Linked DNA regions of Homo sapiens: all the other regions are linked to region 1. The links are contacts of gene promoters, found by promoter capture Hi-C in blood cells and fetal thymus (Javierre and others, 2016). All regions are on one chromosome and are shown on one strand. The core of a region is centred on a gene start or on the middle of the fragment in contact, and the rest is flanking DNA. Distances in the headings are between cores, read along the strand shown.

Region 1 (2,615 bases), core at 116-2,615:
TGTACACCTTCACCACATGGAACCGGAAGCTGTAGACACCCCGGACAGGGGCTACGAAGGAGCCAGAGGCCCGGTCAAAGCCACCGCCCTCGTTCACCAGGACCTGGGGGAAGCAGAGCCTGCTGAGTGGGGCTCAGGAAATGCCCATGGCTCAGGGGTACCATGGGGACTAGGGGCAGGGGCAGTGAGTAATGAATAGAAGGAGTGGCAAGTAGGAGTGAATAGGAGTGAACAGATTCAAAAGAAATGGTGAGAAGGGGCAAGGAGAGGGCTGCGTATGGGTGGAGGGAGGGGAAACCGTCGGTGGGGTGGTGGGGCAATAGGCCAGATTAGTGAAAGATGTAGGAAGCTGTTTTCTTAAAGCCTCAGAGACAGCAAAGTGGGCTTGGACAGTTGCTTCCAGGTCCTTGCAGGGTCTTTCCAGGTCCCCTGGACAGGGGTAGGGGGATTACCTGGTCGAAGTAGATGGCCCCACTGGTGCCATTGCCGGTTTCCCCTGCTGGCTCATGGTGGTGGCTTCGGACCGCAGCAAATGCCACTCGCCCAGGGGGTGCCTCTCCCAGGGCTGCTCCCCCGGGCCCCCCTGCAGCAGCTCGGCCAGGCTCACAGACCACCAGGCACTCCCCCTCCAGCAGGACGGGCTCTGACCCCTCCTGGGCCCACCCGGCCCCCAGGGCCAGAAGCACCAGAACCAAGGGCAGCCCGGGACTGTGTAGGGGACCTGGTAGCCAGTGTGGCTTGGCTCCCAACATGGCTGAGGGGCTCTGCAACCCACAAGTGCCCCGGTCTTCTGCCCCTCTTCTGTTTCCGCTCCTCTCCCTGGATTCTCACCGCCGGCACCCTGATCGTCTGCCCTCTCTAGGCTCGCTGAACCCCCTCTCCATACCTGTGTCCCAGCTCTGTCCTGCCTCCCACTCTTACTCCTGCTGTCACTGCAGTTCCCTCCTCCTTGGCAGAGCATGCAGTGACAGCAGTTGGGCTTTGGGAGAGAAAGGAGGGATGAAGCCGCCTGCCCACTGGACGGGAGGGCTGCAGCCAGAGCTTCAGGGCAGCCCTGCTGGATGGGACAGCACTGAGGGCTGGACCTGGGGGGATGGAGAACATGGTATGTGTGTGTGACGGGTGTGACAGAATGTGTGAGTGTGTGCATATGCCAGAGGCAGCCCCTCAACCCCTTCCTCCTACTCTTCCTCTCTTCAAAATCCCCCACAAATCAACAGCCCTTCTTCGTGGCATCTTTCCGTTTGTTGGAAGAAAGGGGTACTCCACCACGGGTACCCTCCGCCTCCCGCCTCCCGCCTACCCCCTCCGCCACGATTGCTTTGGTGGAAAGTGCTTGGGCCTAGAGCACCAGTGGGCCAGTCACGCTGCCTCTTTGGTCGGCCACATCTTTATTCGCGGGAAACAACTTTCAACGCATGGTTCCCCTTTCCGAGAAGTAACTGCGCAGAATGCGCGAGGACCCTGAGGGCCGGGAGACAGACGGGAGGGCTGGTGAGAAGCGCAAGGGGCGAGCCCTGGAGCCGCCGAGGGGACTAGGCCGAGCGGGCCCGTCGGGGCCTCTGGGCGCGGCGGCGGGGTTGGGAGGAGGGCGCGCAGCCGGGAGGAGCTGGGCTGACTCCGCCCCAGGCCAGGAAGTGACTCAAGAAACAGTTTGCGTGCGATGTGGACAAGAGAGGTCCCCGCTGGGTGAGGAACCCGGGAAGGCCCGCCCAGATTCGGGCCCCCTGCCCTTGTCCCCTGGGCTGGGGGCGCGGGCAAAGCGGGGGCCTGGCGGGCGCTGAGAGGACCTGAAGCCGGCGCGGGCGGCGGAGGCGGTAGGCGCGCCCCTCCACCGCGCCCGGGAGCGGGGAGCGGGGGCCGCGGTGCGGAGTAGGCCCGGCCCGGGGTGGCTGCCCCAGTCCGCGGTGGGCGGGCCCGGCCCGGCCCGGCCCCTGGGCCCTGGGCGGTGCTCCTGGCCCGACGGAGAGGGGCAGCGGACGGCTGGGGGAGGGGTGGGAGTGGCTTGAACCTTGGAAATGGCAGACCAGGGCCCCCAGAGGACAGCCTAGTTCAATCCCCTGCTGAGGATTCGTCCTTAAGAAGCTTCAGAGTGCCCCAGGAGACTCCTTCTGGCCTCCAGGCCGAGCTGGAGCCCCCCCACCCTTCTTGCTCCGGACTGTGGTCATCCTTTTCCAAAGCCCAGACGCCCACTCTCGATAGACAGCCTTGTTTACCGGGACTTCCTCTCCGGAGAGGCCTGCGTGACATACACCCTCCCTACCTCCAGTGGACTCAGATGCTTGTCACCTCCTGGGGCTGTTTACCAGAGCCTTAACTAGGTGCGACCTGTTGATAGCTGGTGTAGTCCCAGGAACCAGGATTTGGATGGAGGGTACAATGAGGCTCTGAGCTGCCTTCTCCCCTTCCAGGGCTGGGGGCAGCAGCCATGCCTACCTGGGGGGCCCGCCCCGCGTCCCCAGATCGCTTTGCGGTGTCTGCGGAGGCTGAGAACAAGGTTCGGGAACAGCAGCCCCATGTGGAGCGCATCTTCAGCGTGGGGGTGAGCGTCCTTCCGAAGGACTGTCCGGACAACCCCCACATCTGGCTGCAGCTGGAGGGCCCCAAGGAAAACG
Region 2 (2,615 bases), core at 81-2,580, 390 kb before region 1:
GAGAAAATTCCCTGAACCTGTTTCATCATCTCCACCTTAAGGACATTGGAATAGATGATCTCAAAGGCCCCTCCAGGGTAACTTTCTACAGCTCTATTTAAGCCAGTTTTTCCATTCAGGTAAGTGTGGCCAGATTGACTTTGAAATAATGGTAACTTATTCAAGAAGAACTGGACAGTAAGCACTTGGAGAAATGTGGGTGGAACTCAGTGTGAAAGGAAGAGGAGGGGTCTGGAAATAGATTTTGGGGTGAGATTTGAAATCACGAGAATGAAGGAGCTCCCAAATGGGAAAATGTAAAGAAAAGAGCATAGGGTCAGAGACAGCCTTAGAAGAATAGGAGGTGGGAAGAAAACACTGCAAAAGAAATAAGGCCAACTTCCTGGTGGCTCACACCTGTAACACTTTGAGAGGCCGAGGCAGGCGGATGGCTTTAGCTCAGGAGTTCCAGACCAGCCTGGGCAACATGGCAAGACCCTGTCTCTACAAAAAGTACAAAAATTGCCCAGGTGTGATGGCACGCACCTGTATTCTCAGCTACTTGGGGGGCTGAGGCAGGAGGATGGCTTGAACCCAGTAGGTCAAGGCTGCAGTGAGCTGGGATCATGCCACTGAACTCCAGCCTGGGTGACAGAGGAAGACTCCATCTAAAAAAAGAAAGAAGCCAACCTTAAATGGTTAGCAGCAGATCTTAGGGTAGTTTTCAAAAAAGATGTTTTAAGAAATAGAAGTTATTTTGACGATAGTTCCTAAGAAGGAAGATTTGTTGTTGTTGTTGTTGTCATTGTTGTTGTTTTTTTAAATATAGGGATAAGGTCTCCCTATGTTGCCCAGGCTTCTCTCAAACTGCTCAGTTCAAGTGGTCCTCCCACCGTGACCTCCCAAAGTGCCATGATTCCCGGCGTGAGCCACCACGCCCCGCCCAGAAGGAAGTTTTTATCAACGTGAATAAATGCACCTCCCTTACTTACTGCAGCCCTGGTCCAGACCTTACCCCTCTCCCTAGGCTATGAAGCTTCATGGAGTTATTGATATCCTATCACTATCGATAACAAACTCCGTCTGCTTTTAGAATGTGTTTATCAAGTGCAGTGTAAATGTGAGGAGTCTTTGCCACATGCCACACACCTGGAGCACACCTGGTAAAGGGCGGGTGGGGGCAGCTTCCTCTGTCCCTGCCCTTCTCATTCGTTTCTGCTGCTCCTACTTCTGTCTGCTTCCATCTGCCCTTCACTATCCACCGTCTGCTCCCCTCCCCAGCCTTCTTCCCGGCATGCTCTGCTACCTGGTTGATTTCCAACAGAGACGTGGCAGCTAATATGCCAACAACTATGACACTTAAACTTACACACCCAACTGTCCCCCTTTCAGCTGCCAAAAAGGAATCATTTTTCATTAGCTGGGAAATATTAAAAGCTGCTAGTTAAGTAAAATACTAATTCTGGTGAAATAACCAGTTGCCACTTTATAATATACATCCTTTAAAAAAGTAAAAATAAAAACCTATATTATTTTCTTCCTAACTGCAATGTCAAGAAAATCTGAGATCCAGATGTCTATATTCAAGTGGTACAATATTGGGTTTTATGTGTAAGTATATAATTACATTACATTCGTAATATATTTCACACACATTCTTTAATTACAAAGCTTTAATTAAAATATTTGTCTTTGTATACTAAGGTTAATAGTCCCACGATTTGGAAATGCTAATTTTTTATGATCTCCCATGGTTTTGCTTTTTACTCTGATGTTGTATTAGTCTGTTTTGCGTTGCTATAAAGGAATACCTGAGCTGGGCAATTTATAAAGAAAAAGAGGGTTGTGGCCGGGCGCGGTGGCTAACGCCTGTAATCCCAACACTTTGGGAGGTCGAGGCGGGCAGATCACGAGGTCAGGAGATCGAGACCATCTTGGCTAACATGGTGAAAGCCCGTCTCTACTAAAAATACAAAAAATCAGCCGGGTGTGGTGGCGGGCACCTGTAGTCTCAGCTACTTGGGAGGCTGAGGCAGGAGAATGGTGTGAACCCGGGAGGCGGAGCTTGCAGTGAGCCGAGATTGCGCCACTGCACTCCAGCCTGGGTGACAGAGCGAGACTCCGTCTCAAAAAAAAAAAAAAAAGAAAAGAAAAGAGGGTTGTTTTGGTTTACACTTCTGCAGACTGCAGAAGAAGCATGGTGCCAGTATCTGCTTCTGATGAGGCCTCAGGAAGCTTACAATCATAGCAGAAGGCAAAAGGGAGCAGGCGCGTTACATGGCAAGAGAGGAAGTGAGATACCAGGCTTTTAAACAACTAGCTCTGGCATGAACTAATAGAGTGAGAGCTCACTAATTGCCACCAGGAGAGCACCAAGCCATTCATAAGGGATCCACCCCATGACCCAAACACCTCACACCAGGTTCCACCTTGAACACTGGTGATCACATTTCAACATGGGACTTAGAGGGGACAAACATACCAACTATATCAGATGTCATCAAACATTTCTCAACACTAAAGTATCAGGATGTGAAAACACTATGATTTATTTACCAGTGTTTCATACACATAAAGACCAAAGTGCCAAAATGTTCTTCAGTGAGCTAGTTTTTTATTGTTAAGCTTTGTCCCTC
Region 3 (2,615 bases), core at 47-2,546, 370 kb before region 1:
AAGTAAACGTTTCCCTCTGGGACACGGGGCATACCCGGGGCATGCAGGGCACAGTGTGATGTGATGGAAAATTGAGTGGGGGAGCATGAAGAGGCACTGCATGGTGCCTATCACTGGACTGAGCATGTGGGGAAGCAAAAAGAGAGGACATGCAGGATATGGGCTTCAAACATATGTGGGCGAACAGCAGGAGTGCACAGGACTCTGGGAGCTCAGCTGGGCATTCAAGAAGGCTGTAGCAATGGGGACCAGGCCAGCCAGAGACATCACCTCCACCACTGTCGGTGCCAGCACCAGTAGCACTGTCTAAGGGGTCCTACCTGCGAAGATGTGGAAGCAGGGGTCCCCTTGACACCCCTGCCACTGTGCTCCAGATGCTGCAGCGGCTGTGTGGACGAGTGCAGGAGGAGGTGCGGGCCCTGAGACTATGCCCCCTGGAGCCTGTGCAGGATGAGCTACTCTACGCTCGGGACCTCATCAAAGATGCCAAGAACTCCCGGGCGGTGAGCCCTCCACAGGCTACCCTTCCCCTGAAGTCTGGAGAACCCAAGAAGGCCGACCATGCTAAGCCATGACAGCCCTGCCCTGTGCATCTGCCTTCCTAGCCCAGGGACCCCAGAGACCTAGCAAGTCCTGGTTCTGGCCTGCTAATCATAACCCCTTCCTTCTCCAGCTGTTTCCCAGCCTCTATGAGCTGGGCCACGTGCTGGCCAATGATGGGCCTGTGCGGCAGAGGCTGGAATCAGTAGCAAGTGAGGTGTCCAAAGCTGTGGACAAGGAGCTGCAGGCAAGTCCTGGAGGAGGGAGGAATCCATGGTGGGAACCTAGTGTTGACTGAGGCCCTAAGCCCAGAGCTAAAGTCAGAGCTGGGAGACTTCTGGAGGGCCAGGAGGACATGCAGAGTTGAGACCACCCACGCTCCCACTGTACCAAGGCATTGCTGCAATATCAGGCTTGGATTTTTTTCTGCTAGCTTTGATGTTGGTCCCTGAACTCTGACCTCCCTGCTCTGGATTTGGATCCTTGGACTGACTGCCCCTGTCTGTATGGTAGGGTGGAAGGAGCACTGACCAGAAAGTGGGGAAGCCTTAGTGTCCAAGGCTCTGCCACTAACAGTTTTGTGACTTAGGCAGGTCCCTCAGTCTCAGCAGGAGGGGCTGGAATAGATAAAGTCTCTTCTGCTGTGGTGCCAGCCCTGATCCTGTCCCCCTTGGGCCTCTGGCCTCCCTTTCCCCCATACTAGGTGATCCTGGAGTCCATGGTCAGCCTGACACAGGAGTTATGCCCTGTGGCCATGCGGGTGGCCGAGGGACACAACAAGATGCTGAGCAATGTGGCGGAGCGTGTCACTGTGCCCCGGAACTTCATCCGAGGGGCACTGCTGGAGCAAGCAGGACAGGACATTCAGAACAAGCTGGAGTGAGAGGCAAAGGGCAGGGCTGGGGCTGAGCTGGATTTGGCCCAGATCACTTAGGGACTTAGGACTGGAGAGCTATCAGCAATGAATAATGAATGGCACAATCTCCATTACAAGGATCAATCTTTAACCAAGTGCAACCTTGCTATTTAGGGTCTGGCTGGTCTTTGCCCTAGAAATCTAAGTGCTGAGCTGGGGTTTAGGAGCCAAGTTTGTGCCCACACAGGTGTACACACACATACCCACACAAATACACCAGGAATGGGATAGCAGGGCCTCCTCGGAGGCATGGACAAAGAAAAGTACCTGAGTTGGGTGCATGGAAGCACTGTCTTCCTCCCAGTTTTCATTGCCCCTAGAGTTCTTTCATTCTGGGTCTGGGTGCCACCACTCACCAAACCAAAGGAAAACTAGTACACATACCTATGAAACAGCTAGGCCCAAGGAAGGGTCTTTCCTACCCTCACAGTAGCAACTAGCAGGGTTTAGTTACTCAGCACCCCAATTACCTAGCTCTGTTCCACTGGGGCTCCAGGGGCCTGACCTAGGGCCCCCTTGCTCCTTCTCCTCGAATTCCTCTTTCCCCACACATAGTTGGGCTGGGGGCTCTGGGGTGGGACTAGACGTGTATTTGTGGAGAAATGAGTGTCAAGGGCTAGGCTGCCTCCTTCAGCAGCCACATGCGCTCCATGGGCAGACAGACCAGGCCAGCTGGCCGTTCTCTCAGGCTTCTGGGAGAGGGAGTGCCTCAGGGGCCATGCGGGGGACTGAGGTGCTAATGTTCTGAGTAGCCCCACCTGTGCCCACAGTGAAGTGAAGCTCTCAGTCGTCACCTACCTAACCAGCTCCATAGTGGATGAGATCCTGCAAGAGCTCTACCATTCCCACAAGAGCCTGGTAAGGCTTCTTCTGCAGCCTGGCCTGGCTCGGGCACGCCCTCCACCCCACATTATCCTGTCTCCCTAATCACCCTCCCCTTCAAGGCCCTGGGAGGTGGGCAGCTTCCATGGAATTCTGTTCACACCTGCCCTTCCCCAGGCCCGGCACCTGACCCAGCTAAGGACGCTGTCAGATCCACCAGGGTGCCCAGGCCAAGGGCAGGATCTGTCCTCCCGGGGCCGAGGCCGGAACCATGACCATGAGGAGACCACAGATGATGAACTTGGGACCAACATTGTGAGCCCCCCGCTCCCTGCTC
Region 4 (2,615 bases), core at 46-2,545, 350 kb before region 1:
CCCTCCGGACCGACACTCCCTCAGCCTCTCAGTGAGTCCTGGGGCTTCCAAAGGAGTGGACACAGGGGGTGCAAAGTGGGGCTTGGTAGAGCCCAACTAGGCTGGGTGTAGTGTAGAAGAGAGTGCTTATGACTCTCCCACCCCCTCCCAGGTGCCTGTCCTGACCCTCGTGACTCCAGTGACCAATGCCTCCACCTCTTGGACCAGGTGTGCCCCCTGGGTTCTGGACGTGAGTGGTGGGTCCTGCTCCTATCTCTCCAAACCCCATACCCTTCAATGCTGTGGCCCCTCAGTGACTTCCTTGGGTGATCCTGACTTTCTAGCCATTAATAAAGAGAACTGCTCCTAGCACCTCAGCCTCTAACCATCATGCCTCAGATGCCCACTGGGCAGCCTGCAGCACCCCCACACACACCATAAGAAATGAGGACCAGCACCTTTCAAAATCTGAGACAGAGCTCCCCAGGCAGGCTGCTGTCTCTGCAGTCTTACCCCAGCTATGTGCCAGTGGGATCTGAGGAGCCCCCTCCCTCACCTCCCAACCCCAGGGGGTCTAGGCACCATGGAGAATAATTACAGGAGATAGGAGGATAATTACGGGCTGTCAGGAGGGCAGGCTGAAGCTTTCTTATAGCTGTCTCCAGAGAGGCCCTGCTGAGTCCCCCAGGAGCTGAACCCCAGCCCCCACACAGCTGTGGGGCGGGCCAAGAGCAGGTGCTGGGGGATACTGAAGGAGGGCAGCAGGTCTGCTAGTGAATTGGGAACATAGTGGAGCATCTAAGGCCTATACAGTCTGGTTTCCCGGGTGTGTCAATGTGTGTGTCTGTTCATGGCCTTAATGGGTCACACTCATGGACTCAGGGATGTGCAGTGCATGAACACACAGATTCACACACTTAACAATCACATCAGCAACAACAGCAAATATCATTACGTAGCATGTGTCAACTTTATGCTAAGTGCTTATTTAAATGCATTTATTCTCAGTAGGTGGTTACCATTATTTTCACCATTTTTCTGACAATCAAGTGAGGCTTGATTTTAACCCACCCATGGTCAAAAAACTGGTAGAACTGCAACTTGAAACAGGGTCTCACTCTGCCACCCAGGCTGGAATGCAGTGGCACGATTATGGCTCACTGCATCCCCGAACTCCTGGGCTCAAGTTATCCTTCCACCTTAGCCTCCTGGGTAGGTGGGACTCCAGGTGCATGCCATTACATCTGAATTTATTTTATTTTATTTTTTTGTAGTGACAGGGTTCTCGCTATGTTGCCCAGGCTGGTCTCAAACTTCCTCCTTGGCCTCCCAAAGTGTTGGGATTACAGGCAGGAACCACTGCGCCCCACCTAAAGCACTACTCTTAATCACCACAGTGTGCAACTTTGTTTTTTTAAGTATACTCAGGTAACCCAGGAGTATCATTTTGAGACCCAGGTATGGTACTGTATATGTGGCCTAGTTGTGTGCTCAGGTGTCTATGGATGGTTCTGTCTGTCTTTGTGTGCCATGCAGGTGAGAAAAGTGAACAAGAAAAGTAGTGGGTCTGAATTACAGCTCCAGGGCAGGCAAGGATAGACACAGGTGAAATTTAGAGTGAGAGAAAAAGAGCTGGGCTCCCGGAAGGACCCTCCCTGCCCCATCCTCTCCCTTCAACAATGAGTGTGGAAGGGGATGAAGAAAGAGAAGCTAAAGGTTCTGTGAGCCCCTCAGAGAGAGAATCCAGAGCCAGAGAGGATGGCCAGTGGCCAATGGTGGGGAAGGGAGAGGAGACGAGAGAAATTCTGAGAGCGATGGAGGAGAGGACTCCCATTGCAGGCTCCTAAGCGGAGGAGGGATGAGCTGGGATAGAGGAGGGGAAAGAGGGAGCAAGAACTGTGATGGGAAGAGAAGAGACAGCTGGGGAGGGGGTGGAGAGAGGGGGTAGAAAGGAAGAGGGACATATGGGAGCCTCTTCCCCCATGCCCGAAAGCTTCTCCCATTTATTATGTCCGGTAGAGGACAGATGACAGTAACTCGTGAGGCGGCTGCTCCCAGCACAACGCCTGTGCTCTGCCCAGAGGCCCCATCTGCCCTCCCCTTAGCCTGCTGAACTGGAGGACTGGGTTACCATGGAAACTGTGAGACCTGGATAGCCACTGACAGGCCGAGCTGGGCCACTGAGGCTTCTGAGTTTGGTGGTGGTGGTGGTGAGAGGGGGAGGATCCATCTGTTCCAATGCCTGCCCCTCCACCCCATTTCCATTGGCTCTCCATAACAGATGTGCCACCCAGCTCCAGGTGGGGACTTCCCTTTTTCTTGCTCTCTCTCTCTCTCCCTCTCTCTCCCTCTCCCACACACAGACACACAAACAGTAGCCTGAAGCAGGGATAAAGAATGAACACTTCTTAAATTGCAAGAACATTTAGCTTATTGCATTAGAATTCTGCCTGGACTTCAAGTTTAATTCACAAAAGCTGCACTCTCTCAGCAAATTGTCATCCCAGGAGAAGTCTCACCTCAGCCCTCAGAGAGGTGGGAGGTGGCAGGAGCACCCTGTGCAGGTCTGGAGGCCCAGACAGCCTGGAGGGAGCTGCCGAGGACCCACGTATGTGCTCACAGAGAAGCCAGGCTTC
Region 5 (2,615 bases), core at 32-2,531, 320 kb before region 1:
TATATTCTTTCCCATGTGATGTGAAGGACTCAATTTTGTCATAAAACCTCAGTTATTTTAACATTTACCATGACTTTTAAATGTTTTACTCAATAATGTACAAGTTCCATATTACAAAAGCTTGAATTAAAAGATTTTATTCAGGTTTAAACTAATTTGTAAGAAGAAGAGAAAAGAGAATCAAAAAATGAATTGTTAAGGAGATAAGTTTAACAGAAGTTTTTTGTTCGTTTTTCTGGACCTCAGGTGCTATAGCTGTATTCATCATAATCCTTTGTAGAAGCTACACCTTTGTCACCAGTTCATGCAAGCCCTCCCCACTTTGTTTAATGATGTAATGAGCTGGGTATTATTATACTTTTTTTTTTTTTCTTTGAGACGGGGTCTCATTCTCGCCCAGGCTGGATGAAGTGCAGTGGCGCAATCATGGCTCACTGCAGCCTTGACCAGACTCAGGTGATCCTTCCACCTCAGCATCCTGGGTAGCCAAGACTACAGGCCCAGCTCAATTTTGTTTTTGTATTTTTCGTAGAGATGGGGTTTCGTCACATTGCCCAGGCTGATCTCAAATTCCTGTGGTCAAGCGAGCTGCCCGCCTCAGCCTCTCAAAGTACTGGGATTACAGGTGTGAGCTACCACGCCTATTATACTTTCTAATGAAAAAATGAAACCACATCGTTTTTGCATCTATTACATGTCACCAGAAGAAATGATTATCTTTATTTTTTTAACTTGACAATGTAGTTTGCACAATTTCCTATGGTATAAAAATAGAAGGCTACAACAAACCTATACCAGGAATAGGTACCTTAAAAAAAAATTGAAGACTACAACACCATTTTAATAGCTACCTGGTATTTCTGTGTCTATACTACATGGACCATAATTTATTTAACAATCCCATATTGCAAGATATTTAGATCTTTGTTTCCAGTGTTCCACTTTTATCAATAATTGCTATGTAGAACATAAATTTTTATGCATGTCCGGCCTAGATTTCTGGAAGCAGTATTACTGGGTCAAAGTGCAAGGCTGTGAGGAAGGGAGTTTTGTAGACAGCTTCCCTCTAATAAGAAATTCTCCTGGGAAGGTGCAGAGGTAAAAATAAACAAGCTATTTATTGGCATATTTGCTTAGCAGAAATATCAAAAAATGAGGTTACTAAAAATAGACATCCAGGTTTGGAAGTTTGTATTTGAAACAATGAACAATAGTGAGCCATTTGTTGATTTTCTTTTAGAGACAGTCTTTAGCTCTATCCCCAGGCTGGAGTACAGTGGAGCAATCATGGCTCACTGCAGCCTCCACCTCATAGGCTCAAGATTCCCTCCTTCATCCTTCCCAAGTAAGTTGGGACCATAGGCACGCGCCACGATGGCCGGCTATTTTTTTTTTCTTTTTGTAGACTGGGTCTCACTATGTTGCCCAGGCTGGCCTTGAACTCCTGGCCACAAATGATCCTCCTCCTCGGCCTCCCACAGTGCTGGAATTACAGTCGTAAGCCACCGTGCCCAGCTCACTTGTGCGTTAAGCACTAAATGCTGTTAGAGGAGGATTCTTCAGCAGATCAACTACCGGAAGAGGCATAGGTGTTTTTTGTTTGGTTGGTTGATTGTTTTTTGTGTGTGTGTGACGGAGTTTCGCTTTTGTAGCCCAGGCTGGAGTGCAGTGGCGTGATCTCGGCTCAATGCAACCTCCACCTCCCGGGTTCAAGCGATTCTCTTGCCTCAGCCTCTCGAGTGGCTGGGATTACAAGCGCATGCCACCACACTCGGCTTTTTTTTTTTTAGTGACGGGGTTTCACCATGTTGGCCAGGCTGGTCTCGAACTCCTGACCTCAGGTGATCCACCCGCCTTGGCCTCCCAAAGTGCTGGGATTACAGGCGTGAGCCACCGCGCCCGGCCAATTTTTTTAAAAAATGATTCCGTCCTGAGACTTTGCTGAAGTTGCTTATCAGCTTAAGGAGATTTTGGGCTGAGACGATGGGGTTTTCTAGATAAACAATCATGTCGTCTGCAAACAGGGACAATTTGACTTCCTCTTTTCCTAATTGAATACCCTTTATTTCCTTCTCCTGCCTGATTGCCCTGGCCAGAACTTCCAACACTATGTTGAATAGGAGCGGTGAGAGAGGGCATCCCTGTCTTGTGCCAGTTTTCAAAGGGAATGCTTCCAGTTTTTGCCCATTCAGTATGATATTGGCTGTGGGTTTGTCATAGATAGCTCTTATTATTTTGAAATACGTCCCATCAATACCTAATTTATTGAGAGTTTTTAGCATGAAGGGTTGTTGAATTTTGTCAAAGGCTTTTTCTGCATCTATTGAGATAATCATGTGGTTTTTGTCTTTGGCTCTGTTTATATGCTGGATTACATTTATTGATTTGCGTATATTGAACCAGCCTTGCATCCCAGGGATGAAGCCCACTTGATCATGGTCGATAAGCTTTTTGATGTGCTGCTGGATTCGGTTTGCCAGTATTTTATTGAGGATTTTTGCATCAATGTTCATCAAGGATATTGGTCTAAAATTCTCTTTTTTGGTTGTGTCTCTGCCCGGCTTTGGTATCAGAATGATGCTGGCCTCATAAAATGAGTTAGGGAGGATGACAAA
Region 6 (2,615 bases), core at 86-2,585, 300 kb before region 1:
TGTAGTATTTACATTTCATTGGATACATTTGAAACAGTGATATAATGGATTTATTTTGAAATGTCAGTATATGATACACTAGAAATTATGTCCTTTGCAACTATTTAAAACCACAATGAGACCAGGCATGGTAGCTCATGCCTGTAATCCCACCACTCTGGGAGGCCAAGGCAGGAAGATCACCTGAGGCCAGGAGTTCAAGACCAGCCTGGTCAACTTAGTGAGACTTTGTCTCTACAAAATAAATATTGAAACAAGGTCTCACTCTGTTGCTTAGGCTTGGAGTGCAATAGTGCCATCACGGCTCACTGCAATGTCAACCTCCTGGGCCCAAGTGATCCTCCCATTTCGGCCTCCCAAGTAGCTGGAATTACAGGCACGTGCCACTATGCCCAGCTAATTTTTTTAATTTTTGTAGGGACGGCGTCTCACTGTGTGAGACCAGCTCAAGGTGGTCCCGAACTCCTGTGGCTCCTCAGGCTGGTCCCAAAGTGCTGGGATTACAGGCATGAGCTACCACACCTGGCCAAAAAATAAAAAATAACCAACCATGGTGATGCATTCCTGTAGTTCTAGCTACTCAGGAGGCTAGGGCAGATGATCACTTGAGCCCAGGAGTTTGAGGCTGCAGTGAGCCGTGATAGCACACTGCATTCCAGCCTGGGCAAGCGTGAGACACTGTCTCAAAAAAATAAATCATAAAACTTTAATAAATAAAAATGAGTGGAAAGAATTTTTTTTTTTAAGACGGAGTCTTGCTGTTGTTGCTCAGGCTGGAGTGCAATGGCACAATCTCGGCTCACTGCAACCTCCGCCTCCCGTGTTCAAGCGATTCTCCTGCCTCAGCCTCCAGAATAGCTGGGATTACAGGCGCCCGCCACCGTGCCCAGCTAATTTTTTTATTTTCAGTAGAGACGGGGTTTCACTATGTTGGCCAGGCTGGCCTCAGGCGATCCATCCACCTCAGCCTCCCAAACTGCTGGGATTATAGGCGTGAACCACCATGCCCAGCCTAGTTCAAAATTCTTTTATAGGGTTCATTGAAGGTCACTATTCCAAGGTATGGGCTTTAGGATCTGGAAGGAATCTGATTGATTATCCAATCTGTCTTGATCAGTTTATAAAGGAAATTGATTTACTGAGGACTGAAGAGGGTTCATTGATTTTCCTAAAGTCACACAGTTGGGCCCAGAACTCAGGTGTCCTTGCTTGCTCATTCCTTTCACTACTTCCGCTGTGCTCTGAAATCCCACCACTGGTTTTGAGGAATGAGGAAGAAAGAAAAAGTGATCTCGAAACAGTTACTGACTAACAGGCACTCTCCGTGGATAGGTAGCTGACTGCCCTGCTGTCGCCGCCTCAGCAGTCAGACTGGGAGGGCAGGCTTATATGGAGAGCCCTGAGGCCCAGGGTAGTTGGTTGGAGGATGGAACTTAAGGTTTCAATTGACTCCTGTCTGGCAATTGCCCTTTTAGGGTCTCCTCTACCTCTGTCACCTGGGAGTAAACCTAATCTTTAGGGATCTGAGGGTCAACGTGATCAACAGATGAAACCGCCAGTTTATACAGCAGCCCTGGGCCAAACTAGTCCCTTAGAGACCCTCAATCCAGACAGGAACTAGGGCAGAGCCAAGCTGCTGGGGTCACAGGGCACTGAAGTGGATACCCATGCTGATCTGCCTCCCAAGGCCTATGATGGCCACAGTGCTGTGCACAGCCACCTTGCTGCATCCTGCTGTTGGTGGGCTCTTGTGCTCAGAACCCCAGGAGAAGGGCTAGATCACACTGATAAGACTGGCAGCTTTTTTTAAAAAACGACTTTCAAGGTTTGGTTATTTTTATCTCCATGACCTCTGATTTCCCTGTGGAGCAAATGGTAAAGTAGGGGTGGGTGGAGAGGGACTTTGGCAGACTATGGACAAGGACAGCCCTGAACAGCTGGCCCTGTCACAGGAACTGGAACATGGTCGGAGCCAAGGACACAGGACTAACAGGAAAGGACACAGACTGCTGTCAGGACACATACTACCACACACCCGAGGCCAGGACCCTGCTGACGTGGCAGACCTCCACCCTGGCCCCTTACTGCCCCCCGCCCCTCTCCCCCACCTGCCAGCTGCCAACAGGGCTCTGCCTTGTGTCTGCCACACCTGTCACTGCCTATCCTTGTCCAGGGGGGGCCCCATCAGCCCCTCCTCAGCTGCCCAGCAAAGCAAGCAGTTAGTGGGGAGGGGAGGGAACATGGAGCGGGGGCCGGTGGTGGGGGCAGGACTGGGGGCCGGGGCCCGAATCCAGGCACTGCTGGGCTGCCTGCTCAAGGTGCTGCTCTGGGTGGCCTCTGCCTTGCTGTACTTTGGAAGCGAACAGGCCGCCCGCCTTCTGGGCAGCCCCTGCTTACGGCGCCTCTACCATGCCTGGCTGGCAGCAGTGGTCATCTTTGGGCCGCTTCTGCAGTTCCATGTCAACCCTCGGACTATCTTCGCCAGCCACGGCAACTTCTTCAACATGTGAGTCCACTCAAGGCTGTGGGAGCCGGGTCCCTGCACTCTGGGATCCTAGCTCCCTTCTCCAGGCTTCTGTCCTCCTGCCAGTCTGAACACTAAAAATAGGCTAGGA
Region 7 (2,615 bases), core at 116-2,615, 270 kb before region 1:
GGATGCATATAACCACCACCATAATCAAGATACAGATTGTTTCATCACCACAAAGGAACTCTCTCATGTACCTCTTTAGTTATACCCTTCTGCCCCCACTTCTAGTCACCTGGCAACCATGAAGCTGTTCTCCACCTCTATAGTTTTGTCATTTCAAGCATGTTATTTGTATATTTAATGGAATATGAATGTTTTTATAGGCACTTTTGCCTTTACCTTAGGTGTCACCATTGTCTATTTTCCTCCACCCGACTGTCTTCAGATGTTTACGTTGCCTGCCTGGCCCCTGCTGGCACTTGAGGTTGTTAACCCTGCCCAGTTGTTAATTAGACCCTGATTTCTTAGTGGACACCTGGCCACTGCCTCTTCCCTAGCCTGGCAGCTGTGGCTTCTGACCCCCTCCCCTCCAACCCCTCACCCTCCAGATGCAGGCCCTGACTTCCTGTGAGTGCACCATCTGTCCTGACTGCTTCCGCCAGCACTTCACCATCGCCTTGAAGGAGAAGCACATCACAGACATGGTGTGCCCTGCCTGTGGCCGCCCCGACCTCACCGATGACACACAGTTGCTCAGCTACTTCTCTACCCTTGACATCCAGGTACTGCAGCCCCTCTAGGACTCAGGTACCCTGAGCTTTGAACAGGGACCCTCCCACCCACCACCTCTGCATCCTGTCCCCAGCTTCGCGAGAGCCTAGAGCCAGATGCCTATGCGTTGTTCCATAAGAAGCTGACCGAGGGTGTGCTGATGCGGGACCCCAAGTTCTTGTGGTGTGCCCAGGTAAGTGGCCTGCCCAGGGCAGCTACTGTGGAGGGGCAGGGGATGGTTCCAGGTCAGGCCTTTGATAACTTTATGCTCTTGCACTTCCAGTGCTCCTTTGGCTTCATATATGAGCGTGAGCAGCTGGAGGCAACTTGTCCCCAGTGTCACCAGACCTTCTGTGTGCGCTGCAAGCGCCAGGTGAGGCACATTCATCCTTTCAGAAATACTTGCTGAGCTACTGCCAGGTACTGTGTTAGACTCAGGGGAGTTTGTGTACTGGAGAGCAAAACAGACATGAGCTCTGAGGTCAAAAGAGCTTACAGACTACTCAGAAAGACTAGGCACAAGGAGAAAGGGAAGCAGAGGGAGGGAGGAAATCGGGAGGGAAAGGAAAGGGGAGGAGGAAGGAAGGAAGGAAAGAAAGTAAGCCAGAGGAACTAATTATACATAGGCATAAATTCTATGAAGAAAACAAACAGGAACCTGAGATCAGGGTAACAGAGTGGACCTACTTAGGGTAGAGAGGTCAGACAAGTCTTCTCTAAAATGGTTTAAGCTCAGGCCTAAACATTAAAAAGAAGCCAGCCATGCAAAGAGCATTTGGGAGAGAAAGAACAACACATGGAAAGGCCAGAATCAGAAAAAAGTGTTGTATGGCTGGAGCCTGGAAAGCAAGGCGGGAATGGCAGGTGGTCAGAGAGAAGCCAGCTGCCAGGTCTGTAGAGCCCTGGAGGCCACGTGAAGCAGGCGTCCGTCTGCCTTCATTCTGAGATAAAGCAAGGGTGATACTATCTCATTTATCTTTCGTTTATTTATTTATTTATTTATTTTTAGAGACAACTCACTGTCACCCAGGCTGGGGTCCACTGGTGCAGTCACAGCTCACTGCAGCCTCCAACTCCTGGTCTCAAGTGATCCCTCGCCTCAGCCTTCCAAAGTACTGGGATTACAGGCATGAGCCACTATGCCCAGCCACATTTATCTTTTAAGAAGTGTAATATTTGGCTAGGCATGGTGGCTTCCGCCTGTAATCCCAGCACTTTGGGAGGCCATGGTGGGTGGATCACTTGAGGTTGGGAGTTCAAGACCAGCCTCCCAATATGGTGAAACCCCGTCTCTACTAAAAATACAAAAATTAGCCGGGTGTGGTGGCATGTGCCTGTAATCCCAACTACTCTGGAGGCTGAGGCAGGAGAATCGCTTGAACCCAGGAGGTGGAGGCTGCAGTGAGCCAAGATCACGCCATTGCACTCCAGCCTGGGTGACAGAGCGAGACTCCATCTCAAAAAAAAAAAAAGAAGTGTAATATTTGATACGAAAAAAATTTCATCTGCATCATGTCTGAAATAAAGTGAACACCTGAGACTACCACAGAACCAAAACACCACCAATCCTGTGGAAGCTACCTGACTTACAGTTTTGAAGGACTTTTGACAGCCATGGGGAGAATTGACCCTAGGGGAGCAGGAATGGGAAACAGAGAGACTAGTAACCGAGGCAAGCAATTGAGGCAAGGTCTGATGGTGGCCTGGAGTAAAGTGGTAGCAGTAGGGATGAAGGAAAAGGGGATATGGTTGAGATGGTCTGTGGGGTGGAAACAAGGCAAAAGTAGTGTGAGGTGGTAGGAGAAAATGAAAGGACCAAGGATGGCCTCTCATTTTGAGATCTGAGCAAATGGTAGGTGGCAGTGACATAAACCAAGCTGGGGAACCACTGGATGTGAGTGGAGGGGCCAGCAAGAAAGGCCAGGGGATGGGATAGAGCTCCCATGTGAAGCCTACTTTCCCTCTGGCAGTGGGAGGAGCAGCACCGAGGTCGGAGCTGTGAGGACTTCCAGAACTGGAAACGCATG

What was found. Contacts are between HindIII fragments. The CHiCAGO score rates a contact against its expected background, and 5 or more counts as called.
Region 2: a fragment that was not itself captured here is called in contact with the fragment with the promoter of CBLN3 in region 1 in 4 of 17 cell types (non-activated CD4 T cells, naive B cells, activated CD4 T cells and 1 more); the score reaches 5.8 in non-activated CD4 T cells.
Region 3: a fragment that was not itself captured here is called in contact with the fragment with the promoter of CBLN3 in region 1 in 3 of 17 cell types (total CD4 T cells, activated CD4 T cells and naive B cells); the score reaches 6.3 in total CD4 T cells.
Region 4: a contact is called between a fragment that was not itself captured here and the fragment with the promoter of CBLN3 in region 1, in 3 of 17 cell types (total CD8 T cells, naive CD8 T cells and naive B cells). The highest score is 5.8, in total CD8 T cells.
Region 5: a contact is called between a fragment that was not itself captured here and the fragment with the promoter of CBLN3 in region 1, in 3 of 17 cell types (total CD4 T cells, naive CD4 T cells and activated CD4 T cells). The highest score is 6.2, in total CD4 T cells.
Region 6: the fragment with the promoter of FITM1 here is called in contact with the fragment with the promoter of CBLN3 in region 1 in 9 of 17 cell types (naive CD8 T cells, neutrophils, non-activated CD4 T cells and 6 more); the score reaches 8.4 in naive CD8 T cells.
Region 7: a contact is called between a fragment that was not itself captured here and the fragment with the promoter of CBLN3 in region 1, in 5 of 17 cell types (neutrophils, non-activated CD4 T cells, naive CD8 T cells and 2 more). The highest score is 6.7, in neutrophils.

Annotation. Positions count from the first base shown.
Region 1 is chr14:24,428,303-24,430,917 of GRCh38, forward strand. CBLN3 (cerebellin 3 precursor) reads right to left here and starts at 1,366. Exons shown (of 3, transcript NM_001039771.3): 1 at 453-1,366; 2 at 1-103. The coding sequence starts at 752. It overlaps KHNYN (KH and NYN domain containing), which reads left to right and starts at 1,652. Exons shown (of 8, transcript NM_015299.3): 1 at 1,652-1,817; 2 at 2,412-2,615. The coding sequence starts at 2,429. RefSeq lists a silencer at 1,489-2,028 and enhancers at 2,059-2,238, 2,383-2,615. The HindIII fragment of the contact is 4,979 bases long and covers 1-2,083 here.
Region 2 is chr14:24,041,682-24,044,296 of GRCh38, forward strand. It overlaps the pseudogene DHRS4L1. Among named protein-coding and RNA genes, the nearest start is that of CARMIL3, 9.0 kb to the right of the region's middle. The HindIII fragment of the contact is 635 bases long and covers 1,014-1,648 here.
Region 3 is chr14:24,060,254-24,062,868 of GRCh38, forward strand. CARMIL3 (capping protein regulator and myosin 1 linker 3) reads left to right here. Exons shown (of 40, transcript NM_138360.4): 24 at 1-2; 25 at 375-503; 26 at 674-787; 27 at 1,244-1,419; 28 at 2,227-2,314; 29 at 2,456-2,593. Among named protein-coding and RNA genes, the nearest start is that of CARMIL3, 9.6 kb to the left of the region's middle. The HindIII fragment of the contact is 4,487 bases long and covers 1-2,615 here.
Region 4 is chr14:24,077,737-24,080,351 of GRCh38, forward strand. It overlaps CPNE6 (copine 6), which reads left to right. Exons shown (of 17, transcript NM_006032.4): 16 at 1-31; 17 at 152-351. It overlaps NRL (neural retina leucine zipper), which reads right to left. Exons shown (of 3, transcript NM_001354768.3): 3 at 926-2,615. Among named protein-coding and RNA genes, the nearest start is that of CPNE6, 7.5 kb to the left of the region's middle. The HindIII fragment of the contact is 1,349 bases long and covers 622-1,970 here.
Region 5 is chr14:24,109,762-24,112,376 of GRCh38, forward strand. The region is part of intron 1 of NRL (neural retina leucine zipper); the gene reads right to left. Among named protein-coding and RNA genes, the nearest start is that of DCAF11, 3.7 kb to the right of the region's middle. The HindIII fragment of the contact is 2,327 bases long and covers 119-2,445 here.
Region 6 is chr14:24,129,324-24,131,938 of GRCh38, forward strand. It overlaps FITM1 (fat storage inducing transmembrane protein 1), which reads left to right and starts at 1,336. Exons shown (of 2, transcript NM_203402.3): 1 at 1,336-2,506. The coding sequence starts at 2,241. The HindIII fragment of the contact is 10,773 bases long and covers 1-2,615 here.
Region 7 is chr14:24,154,732-24,157,346 of GRCh38, forward strand. RNF31 (ring finger protein 31) reads left to right here. Exons shown (of 21, transcript NM_017999.5): 12 at 426-599; 13 at 683-781; 14 at 872-961; 15 at 2,559-2,615. Among named protein-coding and RNA genes, the nearest start is that of IRF9, 5.2 kb to the right of the region's middle. The HindIII fragment of the contact is 7,637 bases long and covers 1-2,615 here.